Regions from separate parts of the Homo sapiens genome. Here region 2 is linked to region 1. Evidence: promoter capture Hi-C in 16 types of primary human blood cells and fetal thymus (Javierre and others, 2016). All regions are on one chromosome and are shown on one strand. The core of a region is centred on a gene start or on the middle of the fragment in contact, and the rest is flanking DNA. Distances in the headings are between cores, read along the strand shown. Region 1 holds the start of HDGFL3 (HDGF like 3). Region 2 overlaps BTBD1 (BTB domain containing 1).

The links. Contacts are between HindIII fragments. The CHiCAGO score rates a contact against its expected background, and 5 or more counts as called.
Region 2: a contact is called between a fragment that was not itself captured here and the fragment with the promoter of HDGFL3 in region 1, in 1 of 17 cell types (erythroblasts). The highest score is 5.5, in erythroblasts.

The regions. Positions count from the first base shown.
Region 1 is chr15:83,202,243-83,209,072 of GRCh38, forward strand. It overlaps HDGFL3 (HDGF like 3), which reads right to left and starts at 5,581. Exons shown (of 6, transcript NM_016073.4): 1 at 5,089-5,581. The coding sequence starts at 5,172. RefSeq lists silencers at 4,839-5,288, 5,679-6,018 and an enhancer at 5,879-6,492. The HindIII fragment of the contact is 15,661 bases long and covers 4,413-6,830 here.
Region 2 is chr15:83,029,072-83,035,302 of GRCh38, forward strand. It overlaps BTBD1 (BTB domain containing 1), which reads right to left. Exons shown (of 8, transcript NM_025238.4): 5 at 1,065-1,257. All of the region lies in intron 1 of LOC124903542 (a long non-coding RNA gene), which reads left to right. Among named protein-coding and RNA genes, the nearest start is that of C15orf40, 21 kb to the left of the region's middle. The HindIII fragment of the contact is 3,430 bases long and covers 1,715-5,144 here.

The DNA.
Region 1 (6,830 bases), core at 4,331-6,830:
CATACAGTAGGTGCTCAACAAAAGTTCAGTAAGAGCTCAGCTCTTGAAGCTATATAAATAGGAAGGTCAAATGCTTTATTCTTATGCTTTACAAAGTGAGAGGTTAAAGAAAGCTAGATCAAAAATATGATAAGCAGTGATTTAATATTAAAGGAAGAGAAAGACACTGATGCAGGTAAACAAACCAGACAGGCTGAAACCAGAACTCAAAGAAAGTCTAAAGAGAATGCTCTAAAGTAGAAAATGAAGTTTCTATAATAAGTCAAAAGGGAATAGGAAGATGCAGCTTGGTAGGAGTGAGGACTCGAAGGAAAAAAAACAACTCACTGAAAGCTAAAAATAGTGAAATTTAATCCATGTAGAAGTATTAGTTCTCCTTTCTCCCTAACTCATATAAAATGTGTTTTTTAAATTGAGGTATAACTTTCATACAGTATAGTGCACAAATCTTAAATGTACAGCTTGATACATTTTTACATATGTACACATCCATGTAACACCATCCAGATCAAGACAGGGAACATTTCCAGTGCCTTCTCCTATTCAATAACTCCTTTCTACCCACTACAAACCAGTGACCACTGTATCAGTAATTTATTCCTTTTTATTGTCAAATAGTACTCCACTATGTGAATATACTACAAATTTGTTTACTCATTCTCCTGCTGATGGACATTTGGGTTGTTTCCTGTTCTATCATGAAGAAAGTTGTTATGTATGAGCATTCTTGTACAGTATTTTGGTGAATATAAACACTCATTTCTCTTGGGTATATGCCTAGAAGAGACTGCTAGGTCACAAGGTAAGCATATGTAGATTAAGTCAGTTTTCTTAAGTAACTATCAATACACTCTACTAGCAATATTTGATAATTCTCATATAAAGTTTTTAAGTGTAAAAAAGTGCTTTAGTTAAAGCACAATAATTTTGAGGCTTTTCGTTTACATTGTTTTCTGACCTTTTAGAGTAGGGGGTAACATAAGCAGAGTGCTCACATCTCAGCGGAAGGTTTGGGTGGGGTATGGGAAGAAAACAGAATTTTGATTTCAGTTTCTTACTCTTTTAGCTAAAAAGTAAATTTTACTAGTATTTTATATGCAAGTTGACACTATTAATAGTATTCTTATTCAGATGGTTATGTTTATTCACGTTGAGTATACTGTGATTTACTGCCATTTGGTGTGTGCCCGGTTGAGCAGGATTATGGAATATCTACTTCTAACTGAACTAGCTCTCACCAAATGAACAGGTGGCTAAAAAAAAGAAAGATTCCTACACAAAAATAATATTAGTAATGTAGATGCAAGCAAACAACAAGGTAAATGTCTAAGCTGACACTTCTATTCTAGAAAATCTCTTCGGAAGTTAAGAACAATGACCATCCATCTAGTCAAATCTCACAAGAAGCAGGCAGAAAATATTCCAAAAATTAAGACTTTAAAAAATATGAACTTAACCTATAAGTAATAATAAGTATTATTACTGTTAACGATATTGTGCAATGAAAATTTTAAAACATATTGTTTTCATCATGTCATCCCTTTTAGTTTCTTTTTGTGTTTATTTTATGCTGTATATAGTAGTAACAGAAAGCACATGTATATATAAAGAAAATTTAGATATATTAGTGATGTATGCTCAAATTATTTTACCAACAGGGTACACAAACAAAAGCGATCAGAGACTCGTTTTAGCCTCAGTACTTTTTAACATTAAGCTAGCTAATCCATAACATAGATGAACTTCTAATTTTTAAAGCCACACAAAATTAGGCATACTAGATGAGAAACAGCCAGCTGCTATTTAATGTTAGAATAATACATCTGAACAATGGGGGAGAAGGAAGGAGGAGGACAGGAATCTACCAGAAAGAGGCATGAGAGTACTTTCGTAGGCACTGTTCTATACCTTGGTAGGTATTATGTCAATGTATTTATGTATTTATATTATATATATGTATCACATATACTTATATATATCAGACATATATCATATAGAGAGCTATATTTATATTATACCAATGTATACATTTGTCAAACTCACCGAATGGTACAGTTAAGGTAAGTACATTCCATTCCATGTAAATTTTACCTCAAAAGAGAAAAGGATCCATTCAAAGTATTAACCACTAGGTTAATGGCATGCATGTGTCTAGGAGTAAATTATGGCGATGTGTGCAACTTACCTTGAAATGCATTAAAATAAGAGGAACTATTATGTAGATAGAGGGAGGATATATGAACAGATGCATGAAAGAGCAAGTAGAATGAAATTTAATTGTAGAATCTAGGTGTAGATAAATGGGTCTTCACAGTTCAATTTTTTAAACTTATCTATATATTCGAAATTTTTCAGGATAAAATATTGGAAAAATAAATCTGAGTTGAAAGTTGACAATAATTTAAAATAGTGTAGTGATACAAAGGAAAGTTAGAAATTCAAAAAGGAAAAAGGTAGGAACATACAAGTACCATCACTTGGTGCTTTTAGATACTCTGTATTTGTGAGGTGAGAATTATCTTTATTTTACAGACGAGTAAACAGAAACTTAGAAAGATTACAGAACATGCACAAGGTCACAGTGTGAAGCCCAGCCAAGAGCTGAATCCAACCTGTAGGAATTCTGAATCCTCTTGACCTACATTCCTCACAAAGGGCTGCCTAGGACCAAACATCTTCCCTAGAGCAAGGAAGTTGCTTCTCCATTCCTGTATGAACCAGCTCTAATACAAAGTGCCTTCCTACAACATGTACTCTGAAATCTGTTTCTTCCTGGTTTCCCTCCTAAGTTTGAGTCCTTGGCGCCCCACAGTATCTAATGCCCACATGAATGGCCTTCGTATCAAGTGATAATATTTGAAACTTCAATAAGCAAGACTTTTTTTCCCAGTTAGCATTTTATAACATTATCATCTACACAGCTATACCTAGGTGTAAGATGGGAATAATGCCTCATAGAATTGGGATGAAAAAAATGAAAACATATGTGAAGTATACGCACTGTAAAAAAGGGGACTCAAATCTTTTTCTAACCTTTACCTTTGGAAATTGCAGCATGCCACTAACGAGAAAATAAAACTTCTTTTTTTGAGTCTTAGGTTGTTTCTTGAGGAGCTCGTTAAATGTGAATAGATACAGATTTTTCTTTCTTGTACCTATTTTATCTAAAAACTTAATTTTGTTTCCTCATTTTATTTTCCATTTTGCCTTATTTGGAATTATCACTTCCAGGAATTTTATGTACAATTAGATATACAACTAGGACCACTTCCGTAGGATTTTTCTGTTTCACAAATTACTACAGGTGGCCAACCTGTACAGGCAACATATTAATGAAATTTTAAGTCTATTTTCTTTTTGACTATCAGAAGATATTTTTCAAAGGGAAGATTTTAAAAAGCCATTATGGTACTAGGAAATGACCAACTAGTAACGGTAACCTTTAATTGGCTTTGACTGTGTTTATACACATATGGCCCTAAAGCTATACATTTCTTACTTGGCAAACAGATTCGGGGATTTTCTGAAGTCACAAATATATTCAGGGACTCCTAAAGTCACAAATCTTGCCTCTCTAAGCAATACTGTATTACAGCATAAAAAATAACCAGTTATTCTACCTTAAAAACTTTGCCTTATCTTAAGGACAATCTACAGTTCAGATGCGAAGCTATTTTCAGTCTACTGGAACCTGAATAAGACTGTTTTTTCCTCTTGATATCTGAGGTTGTTAGTGTTGGAAAGGATCCTAGAGATGATTTTATAGTTGCAGCAATGGATATGCAGACAGTTGAAATGATTAGTCCATAACAGAGCCTGAACCAGACACCAGGTCCCCCAATTCCTGGCCTAGTGTTCTTTCCATTTGACAATCATGCCAAACCAAATATTTAAAAAGTGATTATGTCCATCCATTACTTCAACTTCACTAAATTTCAGTCTGGCCACTCGTGATGTCACTTCCTTTTGTGAATGGGTGTATTTTTTTTTCTTGATCTTGCTATCTTCACTTGACTACAATACAACATTTTAGAGCTCACACTATATTTATGCCAATTTTCTCCATGACTGTTTCCGTTCCTAAAGAATACCAATATAATCTCTAGAATGCCTTGACCCTCCTTTTCACAAGATTTCTTATTTCAAGCAATCAACTGCCAACCATACAAAAATAAAAATAAAAAGGATTTCTTCTAAAACACAAAGCACACATGGCAGTGTTGTGTGTCTTCCTCAAAGAGCTTAATAAAAATTGTGAATGCTATGTATTACATGCAGACGCTTTCTAGAAAAAGAGCCCAACGACAACCTTGTTATGTAGGAAGAGAGAGCTATTGTGGACTGTAGCAGGAGGCCAAGAATAAGGTTTGAGATTCTACCTAAAACAAATATGGAGGTGGAAAGGCACAAGAAGCTTGCTGGACCCACCAGTCAGAGGTAGGCTGCAAGCTCTCGGCTATCAGAGGTCGGTTTAAAAGAACGATGGGCACCAGAGAGGCACGTACCCCAGGACAATGATAGGGCAGGCGGGGCACCGGGAATCGCGCTCAGGGAAAACTCAACAAGTCTAGAAGGCAAAGAGATGGATGAATGACTGCCAAGAGGCTCCCGCTGGCCTCTGGATGACCACTACCACTTTCCAGGATTTACTGCCCGCCGGCACTCGCCGGCTCGCGGACAGCCGCTCACCCCGCTGCCGTACCTGCCCCGACGTTCGCCCGGGACCCAGGGTATCCACCAATGACCCTGCCCGGAGCCGAAGCCTCCGTCGCAGGCCCGCTGCCCGGCGGCGTGGCTTCCCGGTCGGCACCGGCTTTCCAGGAGGAAGGCAGCGTCGGGCCTGCGGGGGCCGGACCCGCCTTCGAAAGTGGGCGGAAGGATGGCCGCCCTGGCGGAGTGCGGGCGAGGCCGGGAGCCCTTGCCTCAGCCCCGGCCCGGTCTTCTTCGTGCCGCGCCGCCCTCAGCCCTCACCACAGCCGGCCGCGAGCTGCGGGCTCGGGGCTGAGGCGATGGGGAAAGGGGGCGGGCGCGCCATCATGAAGGGGAAAATGGTGGGCGGGCGGGCCCGCGCGCGGCCGCGGTACTCACCCGGGCCGGCCAGTGCGGGTAGCCCTTCATCTTGGCGAAGACCAGGTCGCCCGCTTTGTACTCGCGGGGCCGCGGACGCGCCATCCCAGCCGCTCCCCTTCCTGGTAGTCCTTGGTCGCCGCGAAGATGCCGGGAGGCCGCCCCCCCGCGGGCCGACGAATTGCGCCGCGCTCCCCGCGGGCCTCAAGCCGGGCGGACGAGCGGCCGCTCCGACGAGGGGAAGCGGCGAGGCGGCGGCTGAGGCAAGGGGTGGGCGGGGGGCGCAGCAGGCCCGGCAAATCACGGCCCGGCAGCGGGGGAGGGGAGCCCCCGGCCGTTCGGCGCTCGCCCGCGTCCGGCCGCGCCAAGGTCCCCGCCGCCGCCGCCGCCGCCGCCGCGCGCGCTGCTCACCAGCGCCGCGTCGCCTGCCTCATGCCGCCGCTGCCGGTCTCCCTCCCGGGCTCCCGGGCGCGGCGCGAGCGCCGGGCCTCGCGTCTGCTCCGAATTCCTTCTCGGGCAGCGACCGCAAACACGATCTTATTATTGTTCTCGCGCGCGCTCAGCATCCCCCCCCCGCCCCGCTTCCCGCTTCCCGCTCCCCTCCCCTTCCCTCCCGCGCGGGCCGGTTAATTCCTAGGTACACGGCCGGCTTTCGCGGAGAAACCGAGCGCGCCAGCCCGGCTTCTCGGCTGGCGGGCGGGCGGTGGGCGCGTCCTCCCCCAGCACCGAAGCCCGCGCCGGGCGGGCGGGAGTGCCTACTCCGGAGGACGCCCGCCGCCTGCTCTCTTTTGTTCTTGGCCCGGAGCTGCCTGCCGCAGCCCAGCCAATCACCACCCGGCCGCCCCCTTCCCCTCCCGTCCGTGCCACTCTGGGGGTTCTCCCCACTCGCGCCCCCCGCTCCCACGCCCACCTCCCGCTGACTCGACCCTCTCCTGGCTACCCCCAGCCAGCCACTTCCGCGGCTGCTCTCTGGTGAGTGGGGGACAAAGGCGCTCCAGGCCTGGGGGACGGCGGCGCGAGGGGACCCTCTGCTGGGCACCAAGCTGCCGGAAAGAGCACCGCTCCGGAGTCAGCGACCTTATTGGATTCTTGCCCCAGGTCTGCCCTTAACAATGCAGTGTGACCCACCTAGGGCGAGCTATTTAATCGGAGTCATGGGAGGTTTTCTCATTTGCTGAGTGGCACAGACGGGATTCGAACCTGTATCCACATGAGTCCAAAGTCCATAAGCGATTATGTTTCTCTCTGTGTGCGTTTTCTAGGCCTGCAGTGTTTGTGAAAAGGACTTGCACTGGCCGGTCACTTGTTTCCAATCCTGGCAACCTTTTGGACAACGTTTTTGAAATTAGCATCCCTTTCTGGAGATGTATGTACATATACAGTTCATTAGCTCTAGAACATGTTCATTTACCACTATTTTACTCTAAATTCCCTAGCTGGCTGCTTTCAAAGACATTTTGAGAGTAGGAATCTTCCTAACACTCTCTTTTGTGAGGAGTAAGTAGAATAATTCAAGGAATCGTTTGGAGTCTGTCCAATGAACGAATGCTGCTTCTTTAATCATGCTGTAACCCACCTCCTTTAAGGGGTCAGCTGGCATAGCTCCTAAATGCTGCTTTCTGTGGCCCTCACCTTGTCACACGGACAGTTCTCATTTGTGTCTGTTCTCTCTCCCTTTTACAGAAGCTACAGTTTTCCCCACCATCCGCCCCCCTCTCTGGCCTTGTAGAATGGTGTGTGTGTGTTTTAACTCCTGCTCTTGT
Region 2 (6,231 bases), core at 2,180-4,679, 180 kb before region 1:
TTGTGTGCAGCTTTGGCCTCATCCCATAATTTTTGCATATAGTTATTGTGAATTATTATTAAATAGTCTACAAGTACATTTTTAATTTCCATGTTAACTTAAGATTTATAATAGTCCCACATCCAACCAGATTTTTCTGTTTTAACAAACTTGTTAATTTCCAGTTTTATACTGAAGTGCTATTAAATAAATGAAAATCCAAAAGTCATGTTTTGTGAAAACCGGCACTGATTCTATTTTGACATTCAACCTAAAGAAACACAGTACAGCAAAGACAATTTCTTCAACAGGATTATACGCATGCATTTTTCAAGATTCTTGATTTTTTTCTCAAGGCTTTTATAAATGTATACTGAGATACTTTCCCTGCAACATCTATGCAAAGAAAAAACTCACACTAAACATAGTAAGGTTACATTTATTAATTGTAGCCCTAAGCCTGTAAAAATAACGTTTGATCAATTAAGGTCTAGAACTCAGCCCACTGGCAGTGGTGATCCAAACAAAAATCATGTAACAGCTGGGCGTGGTGGCTCACCCCTGTAACCCCAGCACTTTGGAAGGCTGAAGCAGGTGGATCACTTGAGGTCAGTAGTTCGAGACCAGCCTGGACAACATGGTGAAACCCCGTCTCTACTAAAAATCCAAAAAGATTAGCTGGGCGTGGTGATGCATGCCTTACAGGTTACTCAGGAGGCTGAGGTGGGAGGATCGCTTGAACCCAGAAGGCGGAGGTTGCAGTGTGAGAGATCCCACCACTGCACTCCAGCCTGAGTGACAGAGCGACTCCATCTTGGGGAAAAACAAAAAAATCACGTAACAGAAGGTCCAACCCAATCCTTTCTTACTCTATTTTTTTCTTAAGAAGTCACCCTCACTCATAAATCAGTGAGGAGGGCAGGATGCCTCAGTGACTTCTTGACTCCTATATTAACTTAACTTAAAAGTGTATTAAATGAAGTATAAAATGAAATGTTGGTTAATTATCTCCCATAATATATAAAAAAGGCCAAATGGTAACTGCTACCCCCACTCTACCCCCGCATCCCCAATATAACAGATACCTGATTCGATCACTCGTCCCACTGTAACCCCAGCGGCTTTCTACTTGCTGGAATCTATTGATGCAGCATTCCTTTCCCCTGAGACAGCATCTTGGTCGGTCAATGTATTCAACTCGGGGTTTAGGGTTGACAGTAAAATGAAGAAAGAGGTTTACCACTTCACGATCTGACAAAATTCCAGATTGAGCAGGACCTGTGGAAATAAAAACATAAGCCTAAAAAAAGGAATTTGATTTCAATTCCTAACTTTGGAATTCACTTAACGTAAATTCAAATCTAGAGGACGTAACATAAAAATAGGGGAAAAAAATCTTAGCATATATAATTTTTGCATATATTTTAAGGTTTCAATAAATCCATTTGAGGTTAAACACATTAATTAAAATGTTAAAAGCATTAATTAGTCAAAACTTAGATCCAGGAATAAATGCTATTCCTCATGGATGCCAGGAATCCTCCTTTCTCACCTTATACAAAAATCAACTCAAGATGGATCAAAGACTTAAATCTAAGAAACCATAAAAATTCTAGAAGATAGCATCAAAAAAACTCTTCAAGACATTGGCTTAGGTAAAGAATTCATGACTAAGAACCCAAAAGCAAATGCAACAAAAACAAAAACAAATGAATGAGACCTAATTAAACTAAAAAGCTTCTGCATAGCAAAATAAATAATCAGCAGAGCAAACAGACAACCCACAGAGTGGGAGAAAATATTTGCAAACTATGCATCCAACAAAGGACTAATATCCAGAATCTACAACTCAAATCAGCAAGAAAAAAAAAACAAATAATCCCAGCACAAAGTGGGCAAAGGACATGAAGAGACAATTCTCAAAGGAAGCTATACATACGTGTGCATGTGTCTTTATAGCAGCATGATTTATAATCCTTTGGGTATATACTCAGTAATGGGACGGCTGGGTCAAATGGTATTTCTAGTTCTAGATCCTTGAGGAATCGCCACACTATCTTCCACAATGGTTGAACTAGTTTACAGCCCCACCAACAGTGTAAAAGTGTTCCTATTTCTCCACATCCTCTCCAGCATCTGTTGTTTTCTGACTTTTTAATGATCACCATTCTAACTGGTGTGAGACGGTATCTCATTGTGGTTTTGATTTGCATTTTGCTGATGGCCAGTGATGATGAGCACTTTTTCATGTGTCTGTTGGCTGCATAAATGTCTTCTTTTGAGAAGTGTCTGTTCATATCCTTCGCCCAGCAGACTTGGAACCAACCCAAATGTCCATCAATGATAGACTGGATTAAGAAAATGTGGTACATATACACCATGGAATACTATGCAGCCATAAAAAATGATGAGTTCGTGTCCTTTATAGGGACATGGATGGAGGTGGAGACCATCATTCTCAGTAAACTATCACAAGGACAAAATACCAAACACCGCATGTTCTCACTCATAGGTGCGAACTGAACAGTGAGAACACTTGGACACAGGAAGGGGAACATCACATACCGGGGCCTGCTGTGGGGCAGCGGGAGGGGGAAGGGATAGCATTAGGAGATATACCTAATGTAAATGACAAGTTAATGGGTGTAGCATACTAACATGGCACACGTATACGTATGTAACAAACCTGCACGTTGTGCACATGTACCCTAGAACTTAAAGTATAATTAAAAAAAAAAAGAAGATATACAAGCGGCCAATACACATAAGAAAAAATGCTCATCACTGATTATCATACATAGGCAAATTAAAACCACAATAAGGTACCACCTTACTCCTGCAAGAATGGCCATAATTAAAAAATAAAAAAAGAAAAATAGATGTTGGCGTGAATATGGTGAAAAGGGAACTCTTTTACACTGCTGGTGGGAATGTAAACTAGTACAACCACTAAGGAAAACAGTATGGAGATTCCTTAAAGAACTAAAAAGGACTGGGGGTGGTGGCTCATGCCTGTAATCCCAGCACTTTGGGAGGCCGAGGCAGGCAGATCCCAAGGTCAGGAGTTTGAAACCAGCCTGACCAACATGGTGAAACCCCATCTCTAACAAAAATACAAAAATTAGTTGGGTGCAGTGATGTGCGCCTGTAGTCCCAGCTACTCGGGAGGCTGAGGCAGGAGAATCACTGGAACCTGCGAGGCAGAAGTTACAGTGAGCCGAGATCGCACTACTGCACTCCAGCCTGGGCAACACAGCGAGACTCTGTCTCCAAAAAAAAAAAAGAACTAAAATTAGAACTACCATTTGATCCAGCAATTCCACCACTGGATACCTACCCAAAGGAAAATAAGTCATTACATGAAAAAGATACTTGCACGTACATGTTTATAGCAGCACTACCAACTGCAAAAATATGGAGCCAACCTAAATGCCCATCAACCAACAACTGGATGAAGAAAATGTGGTATACATACACCATGGAATACTACTCAGCCATAAAATGGAACGAAACAAAGGCTTTTGCAGCAACTTGGATGAACTTGGAGGCCATTATTCTAAGTGAAGTAACTCAGGAATGGAAAACCAAATACCATATGGTCTTACTTATAAGTGGGAGCTAAGAAACTATGAGGAGGCAAAGGCCTAAGAATGATATAATGAACTTTGGGGACTTGGGGGGAATGGTAGGAGGGAGGTGAGCGATAAAAGCCTACATGTTTGGTACCATTCCCCAACATGGTGAAACCCCATCTCTACTAAAAACACAAAATTTAGCCAAGGGCGGTGGTGGGTGCCTGTGATCCTAGCTACTAAGGAGGCTGAGGCAGGAGAATCACTTGAACCTGGAAGGTGGAGGTTGCACTGAGATGAAATTGTGCCACTGCACTCCAGGCTGGGTGACAGTCTTACTCTGTCTCAAAAAAAAAAAAAAAAAAACAGAATAGAATTGCATTCAAATGATAGATGGGAATAACTGTCAACCTTGAGCTTTCTACCCAGAAAAATATCCTTCAAAAATGAAGGCAAGCTGGGCTCAGCAGTGTGCCCCTCTAGTCCCAGCTACTCAGGAGGCTGGGGTGGGAGGATTGTTTGAGGCCAGAATTTTGAAGCTGTGAATAGCCACTGCACTCCAGCCAGGGAAACACAGCAGGGCCCCATCTCTTTTTTTAAAAAAAATGGTAAGATAAAGATGTTTTTAGACAAAAGAAAAAAAGAGTTGAGAGAATCTGGTTAGTATCCTACCTGTTTTAAAAGAAATATTGAAGAGAATTCTTCAAGCTAACAGAAATGTGCCCAGATAGAAGCACACATCTGGTCATACAGAAAAAAATGAAGATAACTGAAAGGGCAAATATATAGGCAAATCAAAAGGATTATTGACTTTAAAAATAATGTTTTGTGGGCTTTATAACATATGAAACATTAAAATACATGAAATAGTAGCACCAAAGGCTAGAGAAGGTTAAATATAGCAAAAGTATCAATAATGCCTTTATATTGTGTAGAAAATTTTAATTTAAAAATTTTAATTTTATTTATTTATTTAGAGACAGGGTCTCACTGTTGCCCAGGTATGGAGTGCAGTGGTGTGATCACGGCTAACTGCAGCCTTGAACTCCTGGGCTCAAGTGATCCCCACCTCAGCCCCCCAGGTAGCTGGGACTACAGGTGTGTACCACCACTCCAGGCTAATTTTTAAATTTTTTTTTGTAAAGACAGGGTTTCGCCATTTTGCCGAGGCTGGTCTTGAACTCGACTCAAACAATCTACCTGCCTCAGCCTCCCAAAGTGCTGGGACTAAAGGCATGAGCCACTGTGCCCCATCTAAAAAATTTAATTTTTAAGATTTAATTTAAAAATCAATAAGGATATATTCTTGTAATAACAAGGGCAACCCACTAAAATAATAATAAAAGAATCTTTAATACGGGAGGCTGAGGTGGGAGGATAACCTGAGCCCAGGAGGTTGACGCTGGAGTAAGCTGAGATCATGCCACTGCATTCCAGCCTGGGTGACAGAGGAGACACTGTCTACACCAAAAAAAAAAAAAAAAAGAAAAAGAAAAAGAAAGTTTAATAGACTATTAATCATATTAAATATAAAGTGAACCAAATATTCCAAATAAAAGGCAAAGTCTGTCAGACTGAATTTTTTAAAAATGAAGCTTACAAGAGACATGGTCAAAATAATGTAAGGCTAAAAGTAAAAGGATGAGAAAGATATAGAATTTAAAAAACCTTGAGAAACTATACCAATATCAGACAAAGACTTTAAAACAAGAAGTTTAGGCCAGGCGTGGTGGCTCATGCCAGAATGTTGGGTGACTGAGGCAAGCTGATCATTTGAGGCCAGGAGTTCGAGACTAGCCTGGCCAACATGGCAAAACCCCATCTCTACTAAAAATACAAAATTTAGCAGGGTGTGGTGGTGCACACATGTAGTCCCAGCTACTAAGGAGGCTGAGGCATGAGAATTGCCTGAACCCAGAAGGTGGACGTTGCAGTGAGCCAAGATTGTGCCACTGAACTCCGGCCTGGGTGACAGAGGGAGACTGTCTCAAAAAATAAAATAAAAAACAAAAACCCACAATAAGTTTAGATTTAAGATGAGATAGACTGTAAAGATAAAGAAGCAAATTCAATATAAAAAAAAATCCTAAATTTGAAGGTACCTAAAATAAAGAAGAAAATAAAGAAGAAAACTGATGGAACCAAAAGGAAACACATTCTCAATCATACCCTGAGATTTAAATCTACTTCTTTTAGTAACTGATAGAACAAAAAGCAAATCAATAGATAGATACATAGAAAATTTGAAGATCATTAGTATATATTCCTTTCATAGATATAGTATTCAATCTGTTGAACAGATACAGGACTATTCAGGTTTTTCTGCACATAACAAAGAAGAATACATTCTTCTCAAGTATACATGGATACTTATTACAACTACCGTATGGGCCAGGCACGGTGGCTCATGCCTGTAATCCTAGCATTTTGGGAGGCCATGATGGGTGGATCACCTGAGGTCAGGAGTTTGAGACCAGTCTGGCCAACATGGTGAAACCCTGTCTCTACTAAAAATATAAAAATTAGCCGAGCGTGGCACCGCATGCCTGTAATCCCAGCTACCGGGGAGGCTGAGGCAGGAGAATCGTTGGACCCCAGGAGGCGGAGGTTACAGTGAGCCAAGATCATGCCACTGCACTCCAGCCTGGGTGACAGAGTGAGACATTGTCTCAAAAATAAA